Regions from separate parts of the Homo sapiens genome. Here all the other regions are linked to region 1. Evidence: promoter capture Hi-C in 16 types of primary human blood cells and fetal thymus (Javierre and others, 2016). All regions are on one chromosome and are shown on one strand. The core of a region is centred on a gene start or on the middle of the fragment in contact, and the rest is flanking DNA. Distances in the headings are between cores, read along the strand shown.

The links. The method cuts DNA at HindIII sites, captures the fragments that hold promoters and counts their contacts. A CHiCAGO score of 5 or more calls a contact.
Region 2: the fragment with the promoter of NOCT here is called in contact with the fragment with the promoter of SMARCA5 in region 1 in 1 of 17 cell types (activated CD4 T cells); the score reaches 8.0 in activated CD4 T cells.
Region 3: a contact is called between a fragment that was not itself captured here and the fragment with the promoter of SMARCA5 in region 1, in 1 of 17 cell types (neutrophils). The highest score is 6.2, in neutrophils.

What each region holds. Positions count from the first base shown.
Region 1 is chr4:143,511,297-143,515,800 of GRCh38, forward strand. SMARCA5 (SNF2 related chromatin remodeling ATPase 5) reads left to right here and starts at 2,406. Exons shown (of 24, transcript NM_003601.4): 1 at 2,406-2,805. The coding sequence starts at 2,629. SMARCA5-AS1 (SMARCA5 antisense RNA 1) reads right to left here and starts at 3,541. Exons shown (of 2, transcript NR_104027.1): 1 at 3,149-3,541; 2 at 2,176-2,929. RefSeq lists enhancers at 1,837-1,886, 1,907-1,996, 2,027-2,096, 2,127-2,496, 2,787-2,846 and 1 more. The HindIII fragment of the contact is 18,533 bases long and covers 1-4,504 here.
Region 2 is chr4:139,013,195-139,017,698 of GRCh38, forward strand. NOCT (nocturnin) reads left to right here and starts at 2,587. Exons shown (of 3, transcript NM_012118.4): 1 at 2,587-2,977. The coding sequence starts at 2,788. RefSeq lists enhancers at 947-2,146, 1,283-2,204, 2,237-2,586 and a silencer at 2,727-3,026. The HindIII fragment of the contact is 5,482 bases long and covers 1,364-4,504 here.
Region 3 is chr4:147,627,629-147,632,132 of GRCh38, forward strand. It overlaps TMEM184C (transmembrane protein 184C), which reads left to right. Exons shown (of 10, transcript NM_018241.3): 5 at 733-807; 6 at 1,971-2,064; 7 at 3,765-3,877. Among named protein-coding and RNA genes, the nearest start is that of TMEM184C, 12 kb to the left of the region's middle. The HindIII fragment of the contact is 985 bases long and covers 1,627-2,611 here.

The sequences.
Region 1 (4,504 bases), core at 1,156-3,655:
TGTATATGCTTATTAGCTTGATTGCGGTAATCATTTCACAACGTGTTTATATATCAAAACATCACATTGTATGCCTTAAATATATACAATTTTGTGAATTATACCTCAGTAAAGCTGAAATTTTTTTAAAAAAAGTTTTCTTAATACAATAATAGGCAAATTCGGCAGCCTGGCACAGTGGCTGTCACCTGTAATCCCATCACTTTAAGAGACTGAGGCAGGTAGATGGCTTGAGCCCTAATTGTTGTTCAGGACCAGTATGGGCAACATGGCGATCCCTGTCTACACCCAAAAAATACAAAAATTAGCTGGGCTTGGTGGCATGCACCTGTAGTCCCAGCTACTTGGGAGGCTGAGGTGGGAGAATTGCTGGACCCCAGGAGGCTGAGGCTGCAGTGAGTCACGACTGTGACACTGCACTGCAGCCTAGGAGACAGGGCAAGCCACTGTCAAAAAACAAACAAACAAACAAACAAAAACAAAAAACCAGCAACGATCAGTTTCAATACTTTTGTAAATATGCTTCCAACTTTTATCTACATTTTTGAACTGTTAAACCAAATTTTTCAGTTAACACTTTATAAATTAACATTCTTTGGCTAGGTGCGGTGGCTCACGCCTGTAACCCCAGCACTTTAGGAGGCCTAGGCGAGCAGATCACTTGAGACCAGGAGTTTGAGACTAGCCTGGCCAAAACAGCAAAACCCTGTCTCTACTGAAAATACAAAAATTAGCCAGGCGTGGTGGTGCACGCCTGTAATTCCAGCTACTCCGGAGGCTAAGTCATGAGAATCCTTTGAACCTGGGAGTTGGAGATTGCAGTGAGCTGAGATCATGCCACCGCACTGCAGCCTGGGCGACAGAAACTGTCTGAAAACAAAACAACACAAAACAACCATTATTCTACATTAATGGTTGTTAAAGGTTAATAGTTCATTTTCTGGGTGTATGACAGTTTTAAACACCTAACTTTTAATACTGGATTCAGCCTACTGTTGTTAGCTTTTTGCAGTCATATATGAAGACTATGATGAACATCATTGTAGGTATTCATCTTTGCATATATCCTTAGACATTTCCTTATAGTCTAAGAACTAGCATTTCTAGTGGAGTGGGGACATTTTTCCAGATGTCCATTTAAGAATTATCATTCCATTAGTTAAAAAATTTGCAGGCTATATATTCAAAGGGGATCCCTTCTGTTTGGAATTCAACATAACCAGTTAGCTCAAACCTCAACTCTCGAAAAATGTGTCTCCTTTACTCAACAAACATTTAGAGAATACTGAATATGAGGAATAAAAAAAGATAAAAAAGACCCTGTACTGGGCAGGTAATCTACTGTAGTATGCAGATTCGTTATCAAACAGACTACAATGTATTTAAATTTTGTAGGCGATGAATGCACAAGGCCCTTAAGCTGCATTGAAGGCTGCCTAAGGCAGTATACAAAATCAGTGCTGAATATTTGTTAACACTTAAGGAGAATGTACGTTTTAATTTTCATGTTTGATGCTTGGGGAAAAGATTACATCGCACCACCTATCTTCCCCATATATTGATTATTCGTGTTTCTCACTTCCATGGTAGTGTGCACGTTATTTGCTTAACTTTGGCATATAAATTCAGAAGAAATATCATTTAACTCTGTGCCTAAGGAGGGTATTTAGAAATAACCGACGCAGCTAACATGAGAAGGCAAAAAAAAAAAAAAAGAAAAAAGAAAAAAATCACACTAACGGACTTTTTTTTTTTTTCTAACAACAAAAAACCGTGAGACTTCACTTGGGGTAACCATAACGTCGTCAAGGCTGTGGCGTCACGCCTCTAAGCGGATACGGCAGAAGTTTTGGGGCCAGACACAAGACTTCCAAGTTTGAATGGGCAGCGCAAAACCCAGACAAGTTTTCCGGTAGTGCCGCCAACCCCTGTCAGGCACAGAAGACACAGCGAGAACCGTGAGCCGTTACGAAAGCCTAAAACACTGAGCTCGCGTCCTGCCAAGCAGCAGGCGCACAAACCTACACCTCCGAGCGCTCCCTGGAGGTCCCGCCCACTCTTCTCTCCCGAGCCGGCTAGAGATCTGGAAGAGGGCGGGCCAAGGGTGAGGAGGGCAGTATGCGCATGCGCGCTCAGGACCCAGTCAGTGAGCCAATAAGGAATCTCGCGAGTGTTGAAAGTCGGTGGCGTAGGTCGTCGTCCTGGATGCTGGCGAGATAGATGTTATCTTCCAGAGGAAGAGGAGGAGGCGGCGAAGCGTTTTCCCAGCCTCAGTCTCTCTTTCGTTTTCCTTTTCCCTTCCCCCAACCCTCCGCCCTTCTCTAAATCAGCCGGCCTTCCTTGACCTCAGTGACCCGTCTGGCCCCGCCCACCCTCGTCGACGTGATTCCCGCCGTGAGGTAAGCGCCGGTGGAACCTAGAGCCCCGCGGAAGAGCAGAACGTTTGGGAGTGTGCAGCTCCTGGGCCCGGCTCAGGCCCGTCGCGGAGGCGCGGCGCAGGGGAGCGCTCGGGTGGGAGTCTCGCTCCTCCACCAGTTTATTGCGACGTAGCATCCAGGCCTAGGCCTCCCCGTCCATCCCCGCCGGACTCGGGCCTCTGGCAGCAGCGGGTGACGCAGACGGAACATCATGTCGTCCGCGGCCGAGCCTCCGCCACCCCCGCCTCCCGAGAGCGCGCCTTCCAAGCCCGCAGCCTCGATCGCCAGCGGCGGGAGCAACAGCAGCAACAAAGGCGGCCCCGAAGGCGTCGCGGCGCAGGCGGTTGCGTCTGCGGCCAGCGCTGGTCCCGCAGACGCCGAGATGGAGGTGAGGGCGACTTGCGGCATGGGGAGCGGGTGCAGCGGGGAGGAGGAGCTGGCTCCCTCGCCGGATCGTGGCGATCGGACGCAGAGCCGGGTTTCTCTCTCTGCACCAGACTCAGCTTCACACCCTGTGGATACGAAATGATGCTCTCACTCTTGCTCCCTTGTTCTTACCCTATTCGAGCTAAGCAAAATGGATTTCTGGCTCCTCACATTTAAATTATTTGTCTCTTTCGTGAATCCTGACAAATATTTGAACGCTCTCAGTGAACAGATGTTCTTGGTTACCGTGGCCCGGGGGACCCATCGTTTTTTTCCCACTAGACTCCCATAATTCCCTCTCCTACCTCTGAATGTGGTTTTTAGTTTCCACCAAACTTCGGGGAAGGGCGAGGAGATGACCCCTTAGGAGCGGGATGCACGGGCGGGGTGAAGGAGGCATTTAAAAGCAGCGCGTCCGAGGACTTGGGCCTCCTTTTCTTCTTCCCGGTCCTTGCAGGGGCGGTATCTGTTGTGGGCAGAAACAATGGCGAGAGCTGGATGGCCGAGTGCGCAGTGGGGATAAGCGGGGCGCAGCTGCTTCTGTGAAGGGAGAGAAGGCCCCTCCCAGGCACTATTCCACTGGAAGGGAAGCAACCAAGGCAGCAGCAGCTGTCTCGGATCCCCCGTCTAATTTAGGGGGGATGAATAAGTGTAGGAATGAATTAGAGAACCAGGCGCAGTTGGTTGGCTCTCAGTCCGGCACTTTTCTCTTTTTGGCCTCTGGCCTTAAGAAAAAAAAAAATTAGTACCACTCGCTGCCGAGACTTATGGGTTTGGGTTGGGCAGGGGATGCTGACAGTACTGAGGGGGCTGGAAAGATGGGGGAAGCTGCCAGGCGGGTAAATTGGATATGCTTCCAGGCTTTGCATCTGGGAACAAAGTAATTGCTCCTTCCAATTTTTATTTTCTTGGCCTTCGACCTGTTTTGAGATATTTTGTGAGTCGGAGCCCAAAGATTTCTGGGATTTTCCTATCCTTAGACAGAATGAAAGTAATACTGCTCCGAAGATGAGTCTTGATGCAGAATCATTATACAGTAAGAAAATGGTAGCGTAATTTACCATTGAGGCTTTTGGCACAGTAGTTATATTTGGGTAGCTGGGGTTAAGTAACATTAATGTTAGTAATCATTTAAAGAACTTTTAGTGGTGAGGGTAGGTTTAGTGACATAGGAACTCCTGATAGTTCCTGTAGTTTTGAGTGATTAAGATAAGATTACTTCCAAATTAAAATATATTCAGTGTTGCTTTTTTTTCCTTAAGGAAATGGTTCTTTTGGGTTACTAGGGCTCTTTAACTTGGATTTCTGTTCCAAGGCTTAAGGGGTTTGACACAAAGCAATTATGTGTAAATGTGCAGTTCTCTACAAAAATTGTTTATAGTTTTTCCTCAGCTTCTCAAAGGGGTCTGCCATCCAAACTTTGGAAAAATGAATGTTTCACCAGAGGTCTTATTAATATCTGAATGCAGAGTAATTTTAAGCCTAAAGCAAGTCAACATTTTTGACTTGAAGTTGCTATTTTAAATGAAAATTGATTTTAAGTTCAAACGTGAGTATAGATGTTATCACTACCGTATTAAATTAGTGATATTTTCATTTGCCAGATGGGGAAATTGAGTTCTACTAGGTAGAACCTGTAATAAAACTCGGATCTGCCTTTA
Region 2 (4,504 bases), core at 1,337-3,836, 4.5 Mb before region 1:
ATATGATTCAGGCCGAGCGTGGTGGCTCATGCCTGTAATCCCAGCACTTTGGGAGACTGAGGCGAGGGGATCACCTGAGGTCAGGAGTTTGAGACCAGCCTGGACAATATGATGAAACCTTGTCTCTACTAAAAAATACAAAAATTAGCCAGGCGTGGTGGTGTGCGCCTGTAGTCAGAGCTACTCCAGAGGCTGAGGCAGGAGAATGGCTGGAACCCGGGAGGCGGAGGTTGCAGGGAGCCAAGATGACGCCACTGTACTCCAGCCTGGGCAACAGAGCGACAGACTCCATCTCAAATAAATAAATAAAAAAAAAATAAATAATATGATGCACTTTCAGGATAGCATGCTCTTTGAATCTCTTTAAATAGTGACAGTTTATATTTGAACAGTTATTTTTTCATTTTTCAAAGCACTTTTCCCCAACATTTTATTATGAAAATCTCCAAATATATGGGGGAAAAATAATTGTAAGTGAACACTTGTGTCGGGACTCAGAAACTGATAGCCCAAAATATGGGGCTTTGACCGGCTGAATGGAAGCCTCAAGGTCTCTCTGACCTCACTGCCCAGCACCATCTCTCCCAAAGCACAGGATGAAGTTGAAGTTCCTTTATCTGGCTACAATCCGAACCCACCAAAAGGAACAATTGTTTTTTCTTCCCCTCCTTGTAAGACCAAAAATGTAACCACCTGAACAGACCCTTTCACAAGATAATGTGCAAGTTCATCCCTGTGCCCTGATCCATTCACTTTCCCTAGTCATCTCCTCAACAGAATGCCTCTGCTCCCCTCTCCCCAAGTCTGTTGGCCAGGATGGTAGACAAGCTTCTGAACCCCGTTGGGGGTGTGTAATCACTCTGTGATTCTCCCCATGTACATGTTAATAAATGCATATGCCTTTTCTCCCATTAATCTGCCTTTTGTGAGTTGATTTTTCAGCAAACTTCAGAGGGCAAAGGGAACATTTTTCCCATGGTCCCTATACCCATATATACCCACTACCTAGATTCAAAATCAACATTTTGCTATATTTGCAAAACACTTTTCATAGGCTAATTTTATTATCACCTTTTTAAAAAAATTCTTTTTACAAGTACTGCTCCTTGTGGAGCAGGACTACTCGATAGACAGTGTGCCCAGAGTAGCTTATTATCATTTTTTATTTCACCTAATGACTAAGGTATGATTCTATGTTTTATAGATAAGGAAACTGAAACTGAGGCTTTAATGACTTCCAAGGAGCTTGTCTGCCAGAAGTTGTAATCAACTTGTGCCAGCTGATCTGTCCACACCCTCTATCCACAGGTGTTAGATATGTAACCTAGGTCTGAAAAATATTTAGAATATTCTTGTGATGAAAAGCTTGCAATTCCACAACACAGGGGAATCAGCAAAATCATGGGAAAACCAATAGAATACATTTCTAACTCATGAATCATTCAGAGAAAAATCCAGTCTTGGGTTTTCCCTCCCCCTCATCCCATTTCTATTCCTGATTAGTCATCATTTCCTGCCCAGCCTGTCTGAGATGTTTCTTCCATCCTTTCTTTTCCAGTAACAGTAACCTGGTGCGGGTCTACAGTATCTGTTATCTCAGCTGATTTCCTTTCTGCCTTTTCATGAACCAGAGACATGTGATTTCCAATTAAAGCACAGCCCTGACCATGTCTTTGCTCAGCTTACAAAACGTCAACGGCTCGCAGCTATCCACCGAATTAAGCCTACTATAATCCCCTTCCTTCCACACTACAACCTATCCACGCATCTGTCCTCTTACTCCTTAGCTTCCATCTTACATGACTAAGAGTTGTTTCCCCAAATACACCCTTATTTACTTTTTTCATTTATAACTCACCACCACCCCCTCCAAAGTTTCACGTGGGTAAATTCTAGACCTCCACGTCATAGGCCAACTCAAATGCCAATCCTTCTAATGAACCTTCTAGAGAGCCCGGGCCTGTTGTCATCTCTATAGCCAATCTTTGGCATCTTGTGGCAATAATCTCATTCTACCTTGTAGAGCTTTCTGGTCTGACTTCCCTTGCCACCTTCTGCTCCCTTTGCCTAAGTATAACACTTTTGAGGAAAAGAACGCTGTTTTAATCATCGTCGCCTCGCCCACAGGCGGTGCTTTATTGTGCTTAATATCGTTTAACGCATCACACACTGCCGAGGGGGTCGGAGGCGGACGCCTTTTGCTGTATCCACACAGACCCGCGCAGGCACACACGTAGGCCGTCTGCCACTCTGACAGACACGTGTCCCCTGGGCCACAGCCCTGGAACTGTCTCGGGATTCCCAGCCTGTGGGCGCTTCCATGCTGGCCAGCGGAAGGGGACGCTTTTTTCTTCAGAACAGCTCCAACGGATACCTCTTATTTTAGACCGCCTGCGGATTCTATCTATAAATCAGCCTAAGCCCCGCTTCCTTTTAAAACAGGATTACGCCGGGTCGAGGGAGCCTGGCGTGGCCGCGCAGTGGCCGGGTCCCGCGGATTCCCCTCCAGCTCCCGCTTGGTAGCGCCCGCTTTGTCAGCGCGCAGCGCTCGCCGGGCGCCCTGCAGGTCTCGCCAGGTCTCACAGCAGACGGTGCCGACGCAGCGGTGTTGCACCTCCCTCTCCGGCTCTGCTGCCCGGGATTTCCCCAGAACCTGCGCCGCGCGAGAAGGAGCCTGGGAGCATCCGCCCACACTGCCCGGACAGTCGGCTCGACTCGGTGCCCTCGGCCCCAGCCGGGCTCCGCTCCTCGGGCGCGCGAGGGGCCGTGGTGGCGGCGGCGCCCGGCATGTTTCATAGTCCGCGGCGGCTCTGCTCGGCCCTGCTGCAGAGGGACGCGCCCGGCCTGCGCCGCCTGCCCGCCCCAGGGCTGCGCCGCCCGTTGTCCCCGCCGGCTGCTGTTCCCAGGCCCGCATCCCCCCGGCTGCTGGCGGCGGCCTCGGCGGCCTCGGGCGCCGCGAGGTCGTGTTCCCGAACAGGTGAGTGCACCCCAGTTCCGGGCGGAGAACGCCACGGCCGCCAACGCGCGGCCGCCACCTGGAGACCGCGCGGAATGAATGAGAAGCCCGGGGCTGCCGGTCGTGGAGTCTGGCCTGAAAGTGGGTCCTTTACCGGAGCAACCTTCTGCGTTCCCTTTTTCCTCTTTCCCTGTTCCCCGACTTGCCTGGGGCTTGCATCAAAGCTAGTAAGAACTGGGAGACTGTATTCAGGTTCCCGCTTGACCCTTAGAGGCCATGCTTTCAGAATTTCTTGTTCTTGACCGTTAAATTTCCCCCTTCCGAGGCCGCGAGTTACTATGTTGGTTACATTTTTTATTGCACGACTTAACGGAAATTTTTATGGAAAAAAAAATCTAAATGATGCTTATTTGCTTATATAGCTTTCATGGTCTAGATATTAAGTTTTTTTTTTAAGTCGTGATAATAACACATTGATTCGTTTTACGTTGTTTTTTTTTTTTTTTTTTTTTTTTTTTTTTGAGATGGAGTCTCACTGTGTCACCCAGGCTGGAGTCCAGTGGCACGATATCGGCTTACCGCAACCTCCCGCTCCCGGGTTCAAGCGATTCTCCTGCCTCAGCCTCCCGAGTAGCTGGGATTACAGGCGCCAGTCACCACGCCTAGCTAACTTTTGTATATTTAGTAGAGACGGGGGTTTCACCATTTTGGCCAGGCTGGTCTTGAACTCCTGACCTCGTGATCCACCCGCCTCAGCCTCCCAGAGTGCTGGGATCACAGGCGTGAGCCACCGCGCTCGGCCATTTTACGTTTCTTTGGATTTTTTTTTTTTGGAGGCTTCCACTCTTTATAGTTAACATCATTTTTTGTCCTGTGTATCTAAGATCTTGTAAAAGTGAGGCCTTAGTTTCACCAAGAGCTGTTTTCATACATCATAATAACTACCCTGAGTTTTCCTTTTTTGCTACCTCTGTTTCTGCCTGGGCACACATTACCATGGCCACAAATTACATACAAATTAATTATACTTTAAAAATTGATAAATTTTTTCTTTCAAAACTAGGCAATACATAACTTTTTTTTTTTTTTTTTTTGAGACGGAGTTTTGCTCTTATTTCCCAGGCTGGAGTGCAATGGCGCGATCTCGGCTCACCGCAACCTCTGCCTCCCGGGTTCAAGCGATTCTCCTGCCTCAACCTCCCGAGAAGCTGGGATTACAGGCATGCGCCACCGCGCCAGGCTGATTTTTGTATTTTTAGTAGAGATGGGGTTTCTCCATGTTGGTCAGGCTGGCCTCGAACTCCCTAGCTCAGGTGAACCTCCCGCTTTGGCCTCCCAAAGTGCTGGGATTACAGGCGTGAGCCACCGCCCCCCCGGCCTATAAAATTTAAAAAAATAGGCCGGGCGCGGTGGCTCACGCCTGTAATCCAGCACTGTGGGAGGCGGAGGCGGGTAGATCACCCGAGGTCAGGAGTTCGTGACCATCCTGGCCAATGGGCTTGGGCGTGGTGGCACTCGCCTGTAATCCCAGCTACTCTGGAGGCTGAG
Region 3 (4,504 bases), core at 869-3,368, 4.1 Mb after region 1:
ATAGCTGGGTGTGGGGGCACACACCTACAGTCCCAGCTACTCAGGAGGATCACTTGAGCCCAGGAGGTCAAGAGTAGCCTGGGCAACATAGTGAGACTCCCATGTCTATAGAAAATAAATTAGCCAGGTGTGGTGGTATGCAGATATAGTTCCAGCTACTCAGGAGGCTGAGGTGGGAGGATCACTTGAGCCCAGGAGGTCAAGAGTAGCCTGGGCAACATAGTGAGACCCCATGTCTACAGAAAATAAATTAGCCAGGTGTGGTGGTATGCAGATACAGTTCCAGCTACTCAGGAGGCTGAGGTGGGAGGATTACTTGAGCCCAGGAGGTCAAGAGTAGCCTGGGCAACATAGTGAGACCCCATGTCTACAGAAAATAAATTAGCCAGGTGTGGTGGTATGCAGATATAGTTCCAGCTACTCAGGAGGCTGAGGTGGGAGGATCACTTGAGCACAGAAGGTCAAGGCTGCAGTAAGCCATGTTCACACCACTGCACTCCACCCTGGGCAACAGAATAAGATCCTATATCTCAAAAAATAAAAAAGGTATTTAGATAATTTGTTTCCTGCCATCCACATTCTTCTGCCACTGCTATTAAGGATGACTACATTGAAAGAATTAACTGTAAATATGGTATCATTCATCAAAGTGATTTTAATTTGGAGGCTTTGGGGAAAATCTGATGCTATTTAAATGAGTAGTTGAAATTCTAAGTTCTTTTTCTTTTGCAGAGTATTGCTGTTTAGGTGCAAACTAGGTGTATTACAGTACACAGTTGTCAGACCTTTCACCACCATCGTTGCTTTGTAAGTACTCGGATTTTATATGAACTTTTTTTTTCATCCTTGTGATCTTATGTGGGAACAACTAAGTAGAAAACATAGTGTTAATGTGCTTATTTATAATGCAGGTCTAGTCTGTTGTAAAAAAAAACACTGTATAGAAACTCACTCTATTAAAATAAATAACATGACCATTTATAGGCAAAGAGTCACCACAGGGGTCTCCTAAATATTCACATCCTCTCCAGAGCTAGCTGGCCGTAAAGCACTTTGAAAAAAAAATACCTTCTTTTTCAGATACATAGCTTGACAGAAACCCTATTGCATGAAGTTAAAGTATGCTACTTTAGGTTAATTACAGTTCTATTTTCTACATAGTTAATTTAGAATATATTAGAAGTACTCTAAGAAAGAAGTCATATTTTCTTTTAATATATTCTATCAAGGCTTAGAATTGAGGTAAAATGGGGTATCATTAAGCTACCTGGCAAAACTATTCCCTAAAAATTCAAGAACATCAAATACTTTAATGCCAATAGATTACATGTTTTATCTCCTAGTTGTTACTAACATTTTGCATGCTCACAGAGGAAAAGTGGAAAGAAAGACTTGTGAAAGAATTCTTTATTCTGCCTTTGAGCTAGCAATTATTTAGCCATTTAATTATGAAGGCATGCTTTATTTCCCTGCAGCTTAGAAATTGGGTAAGATTATAACAATACTGATGGTCATACTTACTTGAGGGGATCTGGGTCTTCATAAAATTTACCTCCAAGACAATTGAGGGGAAAAAATTAACAACTACAGTTATATACACCTGCATTATATTATGTTTAACAATCAAGCTTTCCCAAAATTAGACAGCATAGTTGTTTTTTTTTAAATTTAGTACTCTTTCTAGTTAAGTGTTATGTGTCTTATTTGGGATTTCCTTCAAGTTGAAGGAATATAGTAATATTTCTAGAAAAAAATGGGTTTTTCATTTTTGAACCACCTCTAGATCCAAAGTCAAGTGATTGTCAATGGATCTCTCAAATAAACTGACTTCTAAATTCTCTGTGTCCAAAGTCAAGTGATTGTCAGTGAGATCTCAAATAAACTGACTTCTAAATTTAAGTATTGCTATTGCTGTATTTTGAAGTACGATTTTGATTTAATCAGAGATATCTCATTTTTACTATTTTTAGAATCTGTGAGCTGCTTGGTATATATGACGAAGGGAACTTTAGCTTTTCAAATGCTTGGACTTATTTGGTTATAATAAACAACATGTCACAGTTGGTAAGTAAAATGTTCACTTTTCTTAAACTGTACTAAATTCGTATCTATAACTAAATTTCTTTAGACAAAGTTTCTTCTTAGGATAAGGCTTGCTTCTTTTTAATCTTCCTATAAATTAAATCTGAAATTTAATTTATAGAAAGACTTGAAAAAAATTTAATATATATCTTAATACATATATAAAGATATAATAACATCTTTGTTTATTATTTGGCAACTTATACCCTCACATGTTGACCATGTTTGTTCATTTATTTCTGTTGCTCATTGCATAGCTGTATGAGTATGTCATAAATAAAAGCACAGTGCTACATAAAAAAAAAAATACACACACACGCCCACATATACTGAACATATTCAGAAGAGAAAATATCAAATTGGTATTTGATGGTACAGGGTTTGAATAAAAATGTGAGAATAAAATTCTCTGTTATCATATATTTGAAGTTAAAGGAAAATTGAGAATGCCAAGTTTAAAAAAATGGATGATGTTCTAGAAACTGTATGTTCCAAAGACCTATGATGTAATGTCCTATTTGATCTTACAAGCTTAAAAAAATGTGCATTTTATTTAAATTCTTTGACTAATGCTGTCAGCAAAATAATTTAGATGCAGTGGTATGCATGGTTGGTATTAGAGCTTTATAATAAAAATTAAATGTCCATGTAGCTAAAGTTTTCCCACATGTTCATCCTCTTTGGAACCAGTAATTCTGTTTCTGGGAATGTATTCTAAAGAAGTGTTCAAAAGTATGTTTGCCTAAAGTATCTTTGTATATAAAGCCCATTACTTGTAAATAACAAAAGGCTGAAAGCAATCCAAAACCCAATGTTAGGGACTAGTTGAATGCACTGTGGTCTTTCCATTGGCCAAAATATTAGGCAGTTACTAAAAATAAGCCTGATGAAACATATAGAAGTTATGTATTTTAAGTGGAAAAAACATTAGGCAATAAAATTTTATAATTAGTTCATGACAGTTATTTAAAAACTGGCTTATGTGTAAAAAGGATGATTGGACACCATGAATCACTTTATTCTTTCTTTCTTTACTGGTTTCATATTCTAAAATACTTTGAATTTGCATTTTATATGATTTTAATAGGGAATAGTGAACTTTCAGGAAAATGTTTATTGTTATTCAGCACTACACTAGGTTATTACAGATTTCTAAAAAGTTAGTAAGTCTTGTTCATTTTAAAAAATAAATCTAGCTGAACTAATACACCGCTCTCAGGAAAAATTGTTTGATTCTTTACATTCAGATTTCATAGTCACAATTTTATTGAAATTGTACTTGTTTAATGGGTTACTTTAGTTACATAGGATAGACTAGGTAATAAGCTAAAGCCTCATAAAATGAGTGGTCAGAAATTTATGTTTAAAAGCCGTTACAGATGGATTTTTTTATTTTGGCTGAACAAGAGCCATTTCTTCCATTTATGTCAATCATTTGTTTATTGTTCCCTTTATGGAACCCAGGAAGTGAACACTTAAAAACATTTTTACGGAAGATGTTGTATGTAGTATATATTCATCTATAGTAAACTATGAAAGCTTGTTAATCTAAAAATAGAATAATAAAGCCTAGAAAAGTTTGCCTGAAACATTACTCTGTACCAGGTCTCTGGTATGTAACTTTAATATTTCTATTACCATATCTATTACTGAACAAGTTTAAATGTTAATCTTGTTTCTAGTTTGCCATGTATTGTCTCCTGCTCTTTTATAAAGTACTAAAAGAAGAACTGAGCCCAATCCAACCTGTTGGCAAATTTCTTTGTGTAAAGCTGGTGGTTTTTGTTTCTTTTTGGTAAGTGTTACTTTTTTTTAAATGTTCTCATTTTTTTAAGGGCAGTAAAAACCGTTGATTAAGGAGGATTTTTAAACAGTCTTAATGCGGAAGATAGATTAAAATGTCTCTACTTCTCTTTTTAAAAGTTCATCTTTTTAGCCCTTCTACAATTTTCAAAAGAAATAATTAGATGGTCGCTGTAACATTTATATGAAGAAAATAGTTTGAGACAACCTAAATATGTCAATACTAGAATAATTATTAAAATAAATCATGGCCCTGTCATATAATAGAATACTATGGAGTTTGGAAGAAAGCATGATGTAGAATATTTAATTATATGGGAAAATAATCAGTAAATCTTTTTAAAACAGAAGGTAAAACTATACATAGTTCAATATAGTAAAGAGGGCCGGGCACAGTGGCTCACGCCTGTAATCCCAGCACTTTGGGAGGCCAAGACAGGTGGATCACCTGAGGTTGGGAGTTCCAGACTAGCCTGGCCAACATGGCTAGTCTCTACTAAAAATACAAAAATCAGCCAGGCATGGTAGCAGGCACCTGTAATCCAAGCTACTTGGCAGGGAAGGCAGGAGAATTACCTGAACCCAGAAGGCAGAGGTTGCGGTGAGCCAAAATCATGCC